Regions from separate parts of the Homo sapiens genome. Here region 1 is linked to region 2. The links are contacts of gene promoters, found by promoter capture Hi-C in human tissues and cell types (Jung and others, 2019). All regions are on one chromosome and are shown on one strand. The core of a region is centred on a gene start or on the middle of the fragment in contact, and the rest is flanking DNA. Distances in the headings are between cores, read along the strand shown. Region 1 overlaps TRPC4AP (transient receptor potential cation channel subfamily C member 4 associated protein). Region 2 holds the start of GGT7 (gamma-glutamyltransferase 7).

The links. Contacts are between HindIII fragments. The study calls those that stand out against the background at their distance.
Region 1: a contact is called between a fragment that was not itself captured here and the fragment with the promoter of GGT7 in region 2, in 2 of the 25 tissues and cell types used here (aorta and spleen).

What each region holds. Positions count from the first base shown.
Region 1 is chr20:35,014,721-35,020,601 of GRCh38, reverse strand. TRPC4AP (transient receptor potential cation channel subfamily C member 4 associated protein) reads left to right here. Exons shown (of 19, transcript NM_015638.3): 10 at 4,463-4,594. Among named protein-coding and RNA genes, the nearest start is that of MIR499B, 27 kb to the right of the region's middle. RefSeq lists a silencer at 2,309-2,509. The HindIII fragment of the contact is 6,059 bases long and covers 1-5,847 here.
Region 2 is chr20:34,867,773-34,874,283 of GRCh38, reverse strand. It overlaps GGT7 (gamma-glutamyltransferase 7), which reads left to right and starts at 1,428. Exons shown (of 15, transcript NM_178026.3): 1 at 1,428-1,637. The coding sequence starts at 1,469. RefSeq lists a silencer at 1,257-1,546. The HindIII fragment of the contact is 17,400 bases long and covers 1-6,511 here.

The DNA.
Region 1 (5,881 bases), core at 1,569-4,068, 140 kb before region 2:
AGGCTGGAGGCTCAGCAGTCCTTCCACATCTTTCTGAGTCAGACACTGGACTGTCACAAGTCTGGGCAACAGAGGTGCAGTTACCCCCATTTTACAAGTGAGGATGAAAACGTCCAGAAGAGAATGAAAGAGTGTACCAGGTGGGAGGGGGCAGTGCCCTGGGGAGGAGTGTGCATAGTTGCTGGAACAGTGAGGCAGCGCGGGACAGCCTGGAGCAAACAGCCAGGAGAGGAGGGCTGAGGGCTCACAGGGACCAGGTCATGTCAAGCTGTCACAGGCCATTTTAAAGACTTTGGTTTTTACTCTGAGTGAAGTGAGAAGTCATTCCTCTGACTGCTTTTGGAAAGACTGGAAACAGCAAGGAAGGGAATAGGGCGACCATTAGGGGCCCTCATAATAGGGCCAAGAGATGATAGCAGCTAGGACCAGCACATTGATGGTGGGACTGGTGGGAGGTGGTTGCATTCTGGATATGTTTTGAAAGATAGGATTTGCTGATGGTTTGGATGTGAACTTAAGAGTGAGGAGAGGAGTTAAGGGTGACTCCCAAGGTTTTTCGCCCAAGGAAGTAGGAGAATGGATTTGCCAGGTATTGAGGTGGTTAAGACTAGCAGGTAAGGGGTGGAGGAGCAGGCTTAGGGAGGAAGATGGGGAGTTGTGTTTTGTACAAGGTAGATTTGAGGTGTGTGTTAGAATTGACACTTGGATTGATTACCTACACCTGGTGTTGGGGAGATGGCAAGGCTGGAGGTATCACTTTGGGAGTCCTCAGCATATGGTTGTATTTAAAACCAGGACACTGGATGAGATCCCACGGTGATAGCCACAGCATTGGTGTCCCTTCCTTCAATACGGAACATGTTTTTAATAAAAAATAATAGTTTTAGGGACAGCTTTTATGCATTGAGTGCTATTACTTTTTTGAGGCACTTTCGCAGTTGCTTATATGTGAAATAATTGTAGGGACAGCTTCTGTGCATTGAGTGCTATTACTTTTTCGAGGCACTTTCACAGTTGTTTGAATTTTCAGGTATTTAGTAAGTTACACAACAGGTGGTGACTCTGTGTCCCCACACTCGATTCTTGAGAAAGCCAGGGCATAAACTGGGCTGTGCGCTCAGGGGACAGGCCTGGATAGAGCCAGGATTTAAACTCTGCTGCCCTGTCTCCTCTTTCTGCCCTCTCACAGCAGTTCTCTGTTCCCTGAGCCTTCTTGTTGCCAGGTTGCTATGAGTTGTTGCGGTCTTGAGTTAAACTGTATGATTACAGTGCTGGTTCCTTGGGAAGGGACCACTAATGACCTTGAAATCCTGGCCCCCCAAAACCACTGTTTCACTAGCGTGTTCTCATTTGCACAGTCAGCATTTCCTGGGTTTCTGCTGTGTGCCGGGCACCGTGAGGATCTGGATTCCCAGATCCTGCCTACACTGGGTAGCAAGGGGAAGGGTTTCCTTGGCCAGGCCTCACAGAAGGCTTCCTCCTTAAAGAGGCCTCCTCGTTAATGAGCAGTTGGGCCAAGTTCTCAGACCAATCTTGGCCAAATTGAAATCTCAGGACTGGAAAGGCTCCCCATGTGCTGTCAAGTTTCATCCCTCTGGTGCTAATGAAAACCATCCATATAGCAGTCGTTTCTTTTAGTGCCCCCTGAGTAGCTTCTACAGTACCTCACTGAGCCTTTTCAACAGCTCCATCGTCCCCCATCGCCTTTTCTATCAAGGGACTTGGGTTCAAAGAATGTTGCCCAGGGTCACAGAGCTATCTTGTGAACCCAGGGCTGTCTGACTGCAGAGATAAATGCCTGAGCCTGTACCCGCTGCCTCCTCTGGTAGAGTGGCACTTCATCTCGCCCACCTGCCTACCATCCTGCTATAGAGCAGGCTACGGGGCTGGACCTGAGAGTAGGAATAATGCATTCTACAAGTAAAATTTGTTTTACAAATTTTACACATGAAGAAGCTGCTATTTTCTTTCTTTCTTTTTTTTTTTTTTTTTTTTTTCTTTTTTTGAGACAGTCTTGCTCTGCCACCCAGGCTGGAGTGGTGCAGTGACATGACCTCGGCTCACTGCAACCTCTGCCTCCCCAGCTCAAGCGATCCTCTTGCCTCAGCCCTCCAAGTAGCTGGGGTTATAGGCACACACCACCACACCCAGCTAATTTTTGTATTTTTAGTAGAGACAGGGTTTCATCATGTTGGCCAGGATGGTCTGAAACTCCTGGCCTCAAGTGATCCGCCCGCCTTGGCCTCCCAAAGTGCTGGGATTAACAGGCGTGAGCCACCATGCCCGGCCGAGAAGCTGGTATTGTTAAGAGAAAAGGGAAATGATGTAGTAGAAACCTCAAACCTAAGCACTGGCCTGAACTTAGGAGACCCAGGGTCAGGTCCAAGTCTGCCTTAGAAGGCCCCTCTCTTCCCAGCTGTGTGACTCACCCCTAATCTCTTAAGCTTGGGTTTCTAGTCTGTGCAGTGAGGCAATTGCACTGGATGAATTTTTTTGGGCCATTGTTGGAACATTTTATAGCTGTGTGACCTGGGCCTGGCTTAGGGCCCTTTGGAGTGAGACAGGAAGGCACATGGCTTGGTGAACACCATAGATGTCAGCCGTACCTCCCCACCCCCAGTTAAGCAGGGCAAGGTAGATCCAGGCTGGGTTTTAGTAAAGGCCTGAGTGGCAGAACAGGTGTCATTTTACATCAGCCTCAGTCTAACAGATTCTGGGCTGCTTATGAGTCTTAACACTGGCCAGAGGCTGTGATTTCTAGTAGGAAGAGAATAGTCACCTCTATTACTTTCAGTGGCAAAAATCGCAATTACTTTTACACAACCTAATATGTTGAAGGAAGAGGTCCATGGAAATGGAGGCTGCCAGGGATGTCTTTGTCAGCTTCTGGTCTCCCAAGATAAATGCATACCTGTAGTGGGCTAGAAAGGGGCAGACTTAAGATCTGAACACCTGAGTTAGGTGCCGTTGCAATCACTGACCTTACCCAGGCTGGTCTTGCTGAACTTCTCCCCCTTGTAAAATAGCAATAAGCGAGCACTGGTGCTGTGTGCAGAGCTTTACATCTGCTTTCTGACTCGATCCTTACAACAGCCCCGAGAAGGGCTAGTAATAGCCTTATGTTATATAAACAAATTTTAACAGGGAAATCATTCCTGCAGTTCTGTTTTAAAAGATATAAATTAGTATAAGTGAAGCCTCTCTCCCCTCTGATCCTTGACATTCTATTCTAATGGTTCCATGAAGCAGCTAATTTTACCAGTTATTAGTGTATCCTTCTAGAGACATTTTTATGCTTACAAAGGCGAATTGTATTCCTCTTTTTTTACACAATCAGTAATACAGCATGAGCACACTTGCTTTCCCAGTATTATCTCTCGGCAATTGTTCAGTTCACGACATATAAAATACCTTGATTCTTTTTTACTGGTGCCTTGTATCCCATTGAGTGGCATACCATAATTTATTTTGGGGTATTACAAATAATGCTATAGTGAGTAGTGTTGTAAATATATATCATTTAGTGTTTATATGGATCTGTCTGAGTGTAAATTCCTAAAGTGGAATTGCTGGTTTAAAGGGATTATGGATTTGCAATTTTAGAGCTACTGCCAAACACTCTTCCCTGTGCAGGTCATACCAGTGTGCCCTCCCACCAACAGCGTGTGAATGTACCCAATGCCCAAGTCACCAACACGGTCTTATAAAGCTTTGTCATCTTTCCCAGTCTGAAAAAGTGAAAAATCAGAGACATTTGTAGGACTCCTTATAGAGGAATTTCTTTGCCTGTGGCATGAATTGCCAATGTATGTTCTCTGTTTGTCATATTTGGCTTGTGACTTTGCTTGAGTTTTGCCATACAGAATTTTTAAAGGTTTAGGTGGTTGATGTCAACAAGCTTCTTTTTGAGCTTCTAGGTTTATTATAATCCTTCAGAAAGGCTTTTCCAACTCTTAGATCATTTTTTTTTCTTTGCAGAGATTTTTCTAGATCTTAGAGTTTTTTAATAATTGTATCTTACTTTCAGCTGAAATTTATCCTAGTGCAAAGCATGAGGAACATTTTGATGTTAATACGAGGAGACAAATCTTAAGGAATTTGTTTAAGGTTACAAAGTTTGCACATGGTAAAGCTAAGAGTCAAACCCAGGACTCTTGCATCCCAAAGGACTCTTGAATCATATGCAGGACTCTCTGAATCCCAAACTCATGCTTCTGTGATAGGAACTACCGGACATTATGCCTTGTAGGATTATTGTGAGCATTAATGAGCAAAGTTAGAAAGTGGGTTTGTGTGTGCTGGGCATAGGGGATACACGGATGTTTTCTTCAGACCCTGGCCCTCCTTACTGACAGTACTGATACTTGTCCTGAATATCATTATCGTGTGTACTGAGCACGAGGTTTTGCTAGATTTTTCAAGCACATTTGTCTTAATACTTTTTCCTTCCTATCCCATTCAGGTTCACAGAATGATTGCAGAGTTCAAGCTGATCCCTGGACTTAATAATTTGTTTGACAAACTGATTTGGAGGAAGCATTCAGCATCTGCCCTTGTCCTCCATGGTCACAACCAGAACTGTGACTGTAGCCCGGTAAGCAGGAGACCCCCGGGGACAGATGGGGCCTCACTGGCTTGGAGTAGTTGTTTCAAGACCTGCTGCTGACCCTTTGACCTTTTTTCCTTTGGGAGTAGAGCAGAAACTAAAATCATATCTTATAGTCCCCTAATTGGAAGCTACCTTGGAGTAGGATCTGAGTGAACTCCACTCCCCACCCCAACCTATGCAGAAATCCCTTTTAAGATCTTCCTAGGCTGGGCACAGTGACTCAGGCCTGTAATCCCAGCACTTTGGGAGGCCGAGCGGGCAGATCACTTGAGGTCAAGAGTTACAGACCAGCCTGGCCAACATGGTGAAACCCTGTCTCACTAGTGTGAGAGACACTTGCGTCTCTCACTAAAAATACAAAAATTGGCCAGGTATGGTGTTGGGTGCCTGTAATCCCAACTCTTCGGGAGGCTGAGGCACCAGAATTGCTTGAACCCAGGAGGCAGAGGTTGCAGTGAGCTGAGATCACGCCACTGGACTCCAGCCTGCGTAACAAAGTGAGACTGTGTCTCAAAAAAAAAAAAAAAAAAAGTTCCTGCCTGAGGCCCTCTAGCCAACTTCCCCTTGTAATCTCTGTGATAGGGATCTCATTTCACTCCAGGCAGGGGCTGCCCACTGCATGAGCTAGCAGCCTGCTTTTCCTTATTTGCTGTTTTATCCTATTGTAATTTTCATCCACCTATAGAACCGTGCTCCCGGGCGTGGTGGTCACACCCGTAATCCCAGCAGTTTGAAAGGCCAAGGCGGGCAGATCACTTGAGGTCAGGAGTTCGAGACCAGCCTGGCCAACATGGTGAAACCCCGTCTCTACTAAAAATACAAAAATTAGCCAGGCATGTTGGTGGGGCACCTGTAATCCCTGCTACTCAGGAGGCTGAGGTGGGAGAATCACTTGAACCCGGGAGGTAGAGGTTGCAGTGAACTAAGATCAAGCCACTGCACATCCGGCCTGGGTGACAGAGCAAAGACACTGTCTCATACAAAAAAAGGTGGCTTTGGTTTTTTGAGCCCAAGCACTCTCCTTTAGCTTGTGTCTCTCACAGTCCCCTTGAGAGAGCTCTGAACAGGACATTGGAAGGCTTGTTGGAAGAGCTTGAATGAATCACTGAATCTCTGAGCCTCTGTTTTCTTGCAAAAGAAGGATAATACTCTTTCCCCTATTGGCCCCCCGGCTAGTCGGCACCCTGCCTACCAGCATGAGAAGGAAAGTGCTCTGGGACCTAAAAGTGCCACCCAGCCATCGGCCTGGTGCCATGGGGCCCTCTTCTCTTC
Region 2 (6,511 bases), core at 179-2,678:
TCCTATCCTCTCTCCCAAGTCCTACACCCAAACCCCAGAGCTGTTCCCGACACACTGCTTCCCCCTCCTGTCTATAGTTGCTACTGCAGCTGCTGTGTATATAGTAGATTTTTCAAGCACTTCAGGCCATCCCTGAGACTGGTCTGGGGTTGGGAAGAGAAAGGATGTGTGTATAGAGGCTTCACCAGCCCCCCTCTCTTCCTGTGGACTTCACAATGAAAGTTTGGAACAGAGACCTCGTAAAAGAAGGAACCTCCCTCATCCTTGGATATGGAGAAGTAGTACAAGCTGTAGTGTGGTTGGAATTTTGGAGTGGAGAGAGGATGGATGAGTTTGGAGGGAATGAATCTACCAGATTAAGGCAATGATGATGATGATGATGATGCCATTTATTGAGTAGGTGCCAAGCCCTATACTAATCGCTTTCCATTCTGTTACTTAATCCTCATGACAACCCTCTAAAATGGGTACTATTATTCTTTCCATTTCACAGATGGGGAAACTGATAGAGAGACTAATTGTCTTGCCCAAGATTACACAGTGTTTGAGCGGTGGCAGAATAGAACCCAGACATCCAGAATATGGAGACCTATTCCCCACCTTGCCCCACTCCTGCCCTACCATCACTACCACCACTCCTTCTTTCTCAAAGTGTCCTTTCCAGAACCACATCAAAAACTCTTAAAATGATGGTAAATATTCAGGTTCCAAGGACCTCATCCCAGCCTACTGAATCATGATCTCTGGAGTGGAATCTGGGGATCCGCTTTCAAAGATCCTAACACACACTAAAGTTTGAGAATGCGGTTGAAAGAGGAGTCAGAAGTGTCGGGGTGCGGGAAGGGATCTGAGGTCAGAGGAGGGATCTGTTGTCCAAAGAGGCGTCTGCAGTCAAAGAGGCCTGGAGATGAAGCATGGGCTGGGGTTTTCAAAAGGGTTTGGGGGTGAAGACAGAGTCTGAAGTCGAAAAAGAGGTCTAAGGTCGGAGGAGGAGTCTAAAATCGGAGGAGGAGGATCTCGGAATTCAAGGAGGGGTCTGGGGTCCGAGGAGTTTGGGGTCAGAGACAGGATCTGGGGTCGAGAGGGATTTGCGGTCAGTGAAAGGGTCTGGGGCCCGAAAAGGAAGCCTGGGATTTGAGGAGGACACTAGCTGTATTCAGGCTGGAAGGAGGAAGGGGTTTGGTCCCTGAGCTGCGTAAAGTGCAGAGCCACTGAAGTCTCGCTTGCCCCGCGCTCTCCCCTCGACCCTGCGCTGCCTTCCTGGCTGTCCATCTACACGCACCTGTGTGCCAGCTGCAGGCTGATAGCGCTGAGCAGACGGGGGCGAGTCAGACCGGGACACGGCCGAGGGCTGGGAGAGGCGCCCCCTCCCGGCTGTCGCGAAGATCAGGCCCCGCCCTCCGCCCTCCCACTCCCCCGCCGCAGCCACTTCCGGCAGGCGCTGCGCTGCTGGGGGGCGCGGGCGAGGATGGCGGCGGAGAACGAGGCCAGCCAGGAGAGCGCCCTGGGCGCCTACTCGCCAGTGGACTACATGAGCATCACCAGCTTCCCGCGGCTGCCCGAGGACGAGCCGGCGCCCGCGGCCCCGCTGAGGGGCCGCAAGGACGAGGACGCCTTTCTGGGAGACCCCGACACCGGTGAGGCCCGCTGACCCCGTCCCTGCCCTGCCTTGGGAAGTCCCCGGTCTTCCTTCTTCTGTGTCAAGCATCCACCTCCAGCTCCATCTCCTTAATTCATCCCCATCTTCTTGGATCTCTCCCTTCTTCTCCCTTGTCTCTGTTAATTATTTGGTGAGGAAGGGGGTGCATTTCTGCCTTGGAGGCGTAGGATGCGACAACGGAGAGGATGCTAGGGACTGCAGTAGAAGGGATTGGGCTTACCTTCTGGGAAGAACCAACTAACGATGAAGGAATGTTGAAGGGGAGATCCTAAGGAACCGCTGTGATCACCCAGAAGAGGGCTTTCTCTAGCCACAGAGGACAGGATAGGAGAAACCAAGTCAGAGACTGCAGCAAGAGGGATCCAATCTGTGCCTTAAGAGAAGTTCCCCACAGCCAGGGATTGTGAGAAGCAGAGGGTCTGGGAGAAGCGGAGAATCTCTTCATGTCTAGGGAGGGGTAAAGAGAATATGATTCCCCTCTGTTGGGTGTTGGGAGACGGAGGCATGGACTGCATGACCTCTCAAAAGTCCTTGGGGACTAGAACGCCTTCACTCTCCTGTGGATTACCCCACCCCTCCCTGAGCCATGGATCTGGCCGGGGTATTAGTAAGGTACTCTGCTCCCTAGGAAGCAGTCTCCAGAATTTTACTGTGTTCCCCTCAGCCCTCTGCTGGAATTGTGAGAAGTGGGGGTAAGAGAAGGAGGAGACAGGGATTGGAAGAGACCTGGGGGCAAAGAGCTCTCTGTGCATTCCTTCCCTGCTGCTCTTCCTCCTAGCCATGTGGCCCAGCTTCATCCTCCCCTCCATTCTTCATCCTTCATCCCCCATCCCTCTGTCCCTGCACGTCACTTCCTGGCATTAGAGCATCCTTCTACCTCACTCTCGCTTCCTCGCAGTGCCTGCACTTGAGCCTTGTCTCTTACCAGCCTGGCAGATGCTGCTTTTCCGGCTTGGCCCTTCCCTAGCTGCTCCCAGCCTGAAAGCCCCAAATTCTCTCCTCCTCTACACTTTCTGGTCATCTGGCCCTGACCAGCAGCCCTTGCCAACCTGACTGGACTGCACTCTGTATGGGGTGGGGGTGAGGAGATAATGAAGATGGAGTTTAGAGGTTTATGGGCGTCAAATGTCAGGGCTGCGGATCAAAACTTATTTTCCAAAGGGAGTGGAATCAGGAGGTAGCAGGGAGAGGAGTGGGAAGATGTGTCATGATGGATATCAGCCTGAAGCTAGGCCTTTTATTCAGTAGTCAGGAGTGAGACTTCTGGTCCTAATACAGCCCTGACTCACCAAGCGACAACAGGCACACCTACCCTGTCCTGGGCCTTAGTTTCCTCTTCCAGCTCAACAGAGAATGCCTGTCTCTCTTGACCTAGAGATTGGAACTGCCTGACATGTTTTCTTCTGGCCCTCTGTAAATGTCTTAGCATTTACCAAAATCTATGATTATTTATTTGTGCAATTATCTGATTACTCCCTGTCTGTAAGCCCCATGAGGGCAGGGATCATGATTGTTTTGTTCACTCTCCTTTCTCCAGCATCAAGACCTTATCCATAGGCCGGGCGCGGTGGCTCATGCCTGAGGTGGGTGGATCACTTGAGGTCAGGAGTTCAAGACCTGCCTGGCCAACATGGTGAAACCCCATCTCTACTAAAAATACAAAAATTAGCTGGGCATGGTGGTGGGTGCCTGTAATCCTAGCTACTCGGGAGGCTGAGGCAGGAGAATCACTCGAACTGGGGAGGCAGAGGTTACAGTGAGCCGAGATCACTCCACTGCACTCCAGCCTGGGTGACAGAGTGAGACTCAGTCTCAAAAAGAAACAAAAAACAAAAAACAAAACAAAATACACTGGCCGGTGTGGTGGCTCACACCTGTAATCCCAGCACTTTGGGATGCTGAGGCGGGTGGATCACCTGAGGTCAGGAGTTCAAAAACAGCCTGGCCAACATGACAAAACCCCATCTCTACTAAAAATACAAAAAAAAAAAATTAGCCAGGCCTGGTGGCAGGTGTCTGTAACCCCAGCTACTCAGGAGGCTGAGGCAGAGGTTGCAGTGAGCGAAGATCGCGCCATTGCACTCCAGCCTGGGCAACAGAGTGAGACTCTGTCTCAAAAAAACAAACAAACAACAACAACAAAAAAAACCCTCATCTCTATTTATTTATTGGGCACTCAATAATTGTTGAATGAATAAATGCATGAGAGAGAAGATCTCAGGATGAAAGAATGGTAGGAGAGAGGATGAAAGAATGGTAGGAGAGAGCAAGTTCCAAAACCTCAGGGAGTATTTTGGGAAGTTCAATACAGGCTCTGCCCTCACCCCTGTATGGAAATCCAGCAGAGATCCTAGTCATCTGAGCTTCTGGGAGTTTATACCTTATGCCAAATTTATGTGTCAGGTTTGTGTGTTGCCATCATTTCAGTGTAATCATTTGAATGCCATATCTCCCAATCCTACTTCCAAGCCCCAAGGCTTCCTCGGTTCACCTGGACCAGACTACAGGCTGACATGGCCTCCTGTGTTCTCAACCTGGTGGTACCATCTAGTGGCACAGCACCATCCTCTTAGCCAGGACCTTGGTTGTGCCCAGCTAGCCTCTAGCCTGCCATTCCCTAAACCCAAGTGCCAGGCACCCCACATCAGGCTCTGTGGGAAAGAGAGCTAGACAGTGATCATTCCAAGGTTGGGAAATACTTTCTTTCTTCTGAGCTCCAAGCCCTTGTGTTCCTTTCTCTCCCAGGCCTGTGTCTCCAGATGTCCTGCAAGTGCCTCATCTATAGCATGTTCTATTTTGAACTCATCATATCCCTTCCCCATGCACCTGCTCTTCCTCCACTGCCATTCTCCATTAATGACACTGCCAGTCACCCAGTCTCCCAATAATGAATGGCATGCTGGACTCCTCCTTTTCTTCTCATTTCCAAATGGTGATCAAGTGCTCTCTGCACCCCTCCTAAGTATCTTCCAAATTCCTACTCATCATCCCTGTCATCACCACTGTAGACTAAGCCACCAACCTCTCTTATCAATATTATTTATAGGCTTCTAGCTACTCCTCCTGCCTCCTCCCTCTTGCCCAGTCCCCACCCCAATCCATCCATCGCTTCTGGTCATGTCACTCCCTGGTTCAGACATCTTTGGTGATTCTGCCGGGCATAGTGGCATACACCTGTAATCCCAGCATTTTGGGAGGCTAAGGTGGGCAGATTGCTTGAGCTCAGGAATTCAGAACCAGCCGGGGCAACATGGTGAAACCCTGTCTCTAGAAAAAATACAAAAATTAGCCAGGTGTGGTGGTGCATGCCTGTCTGTAGTCCCAGCTACTCGGGAGGCTGAGGTGGGCAGATGGCTTGAGCCCTGAAGGTTGAGGCTGCAGTGAGCTGAGATTATACCACTGTACTCCAGCCTGGGCAACAGAGTGAGACACTGTTTCAAAATTTTATATATATATATATTTATTTATTTATTTATTTTAGTGATTCTCCCCTTAAGGGAATAAACAACAAGCCAGGGATGACCCTAGCCTCTAGCCAAGATCACTCTCCTAAACTCTGGACTTGTATAATCAATTTTGTTCAGGATTATTTTGTTATAAACCCAGTTTAACTGAGCTACATCCAAAAAGAGAATTTTACTGGGTAGCATAACTGAAAAGTCCAGGGATATGGGGTTTCAGGCATAGCTGGATTAAGGTACCTAAAAAGGAATGGACTTTTCTCCATCTTTTGCTCTGCCTTCTTTTGGTGGGCTTCATTGGCAGAAGGCCTCCCATTTTATTAGGGGCAAGATGCCCCCAGCAGCTACAGGCTTACATCCTACCAACTTAGCAACTTAAGTGTAATAGAAAGAGGAGCCTTTCTCTTTCCCAGTAGTTCCAGCAAAATAACAAAGTTTGGGTCTTATTGGCCTGGCTTTGTTCACATTGCCTGTTACTGCACAGAGGTACCTGTTCTGACTGGCCAAGTCTGAGTTATATACTTTGGTCAGGGATGAGGGAGTTGGCTGAGAGAGGAGAGAGAATGTTCCTTAAAAGAAAATTGAATGAGAAGTGGTATCCAAGCAGATACCAGGGATGAGCCCTGAAGGTAAAAATTAGATATCTACTAGGCCAACTGCCTCCAGACAGCTTCTTATGGTGTCCCACAAATTTATAATAACCAAAATTGAACTTGTCATCTTTCTCCCAAAAGACTTATTCCTTCTGGTTGCAAATTAATCTTTTTCCAGTATCCTGCTGTTGCTCTTCCCTATCAGTAAAATCAACACTGTTATTGCCCTAGCTGTTCCACAGTGCACATAGTAGGTACTCAGTAAATATTTTTATTGTATAAATCAATAACTTTATGATGGACTGGTGGAGTAGAGAGTCTTGAATAGCTATGATAGGGACATGTCACCTTTACCTCCTGGATCCTTATATCTGACTGGAGAAAACAAATTAAACCATACCTAGGGCCGGGCACAGTGGCTCACGCCTGTAATGCCAACACTTTGGGAGGCCAAGGCGGGCGGATTGCTTGAGGCCAGGAGTTTGAGACCAGCCTCATGGCCAACATGGTGAAGCCCCATCTCTACTAAAAATACAAAAATTAGCTGGGCATGGTGGTGCATGCCTATAATTCCAGCTTCTTGGGAGGCTGAGGCATGAGAAATGCTTGAACCCAAAGGCGGAGGTTGCAGTGAGCCGAGATTGCGCCACTGCATTCCAGCCTGGCAGGAAGATTATCTCTCAAAAACAAAGCAATAAGTACCAAGAAATAGCAACAAAAATTAGCTTGTAAGGTTGGTTTCTGAGGGTAGAAATGGCTCTTGATGCCATGTGGAGCAATGGGAAGGAGGCTTTCTA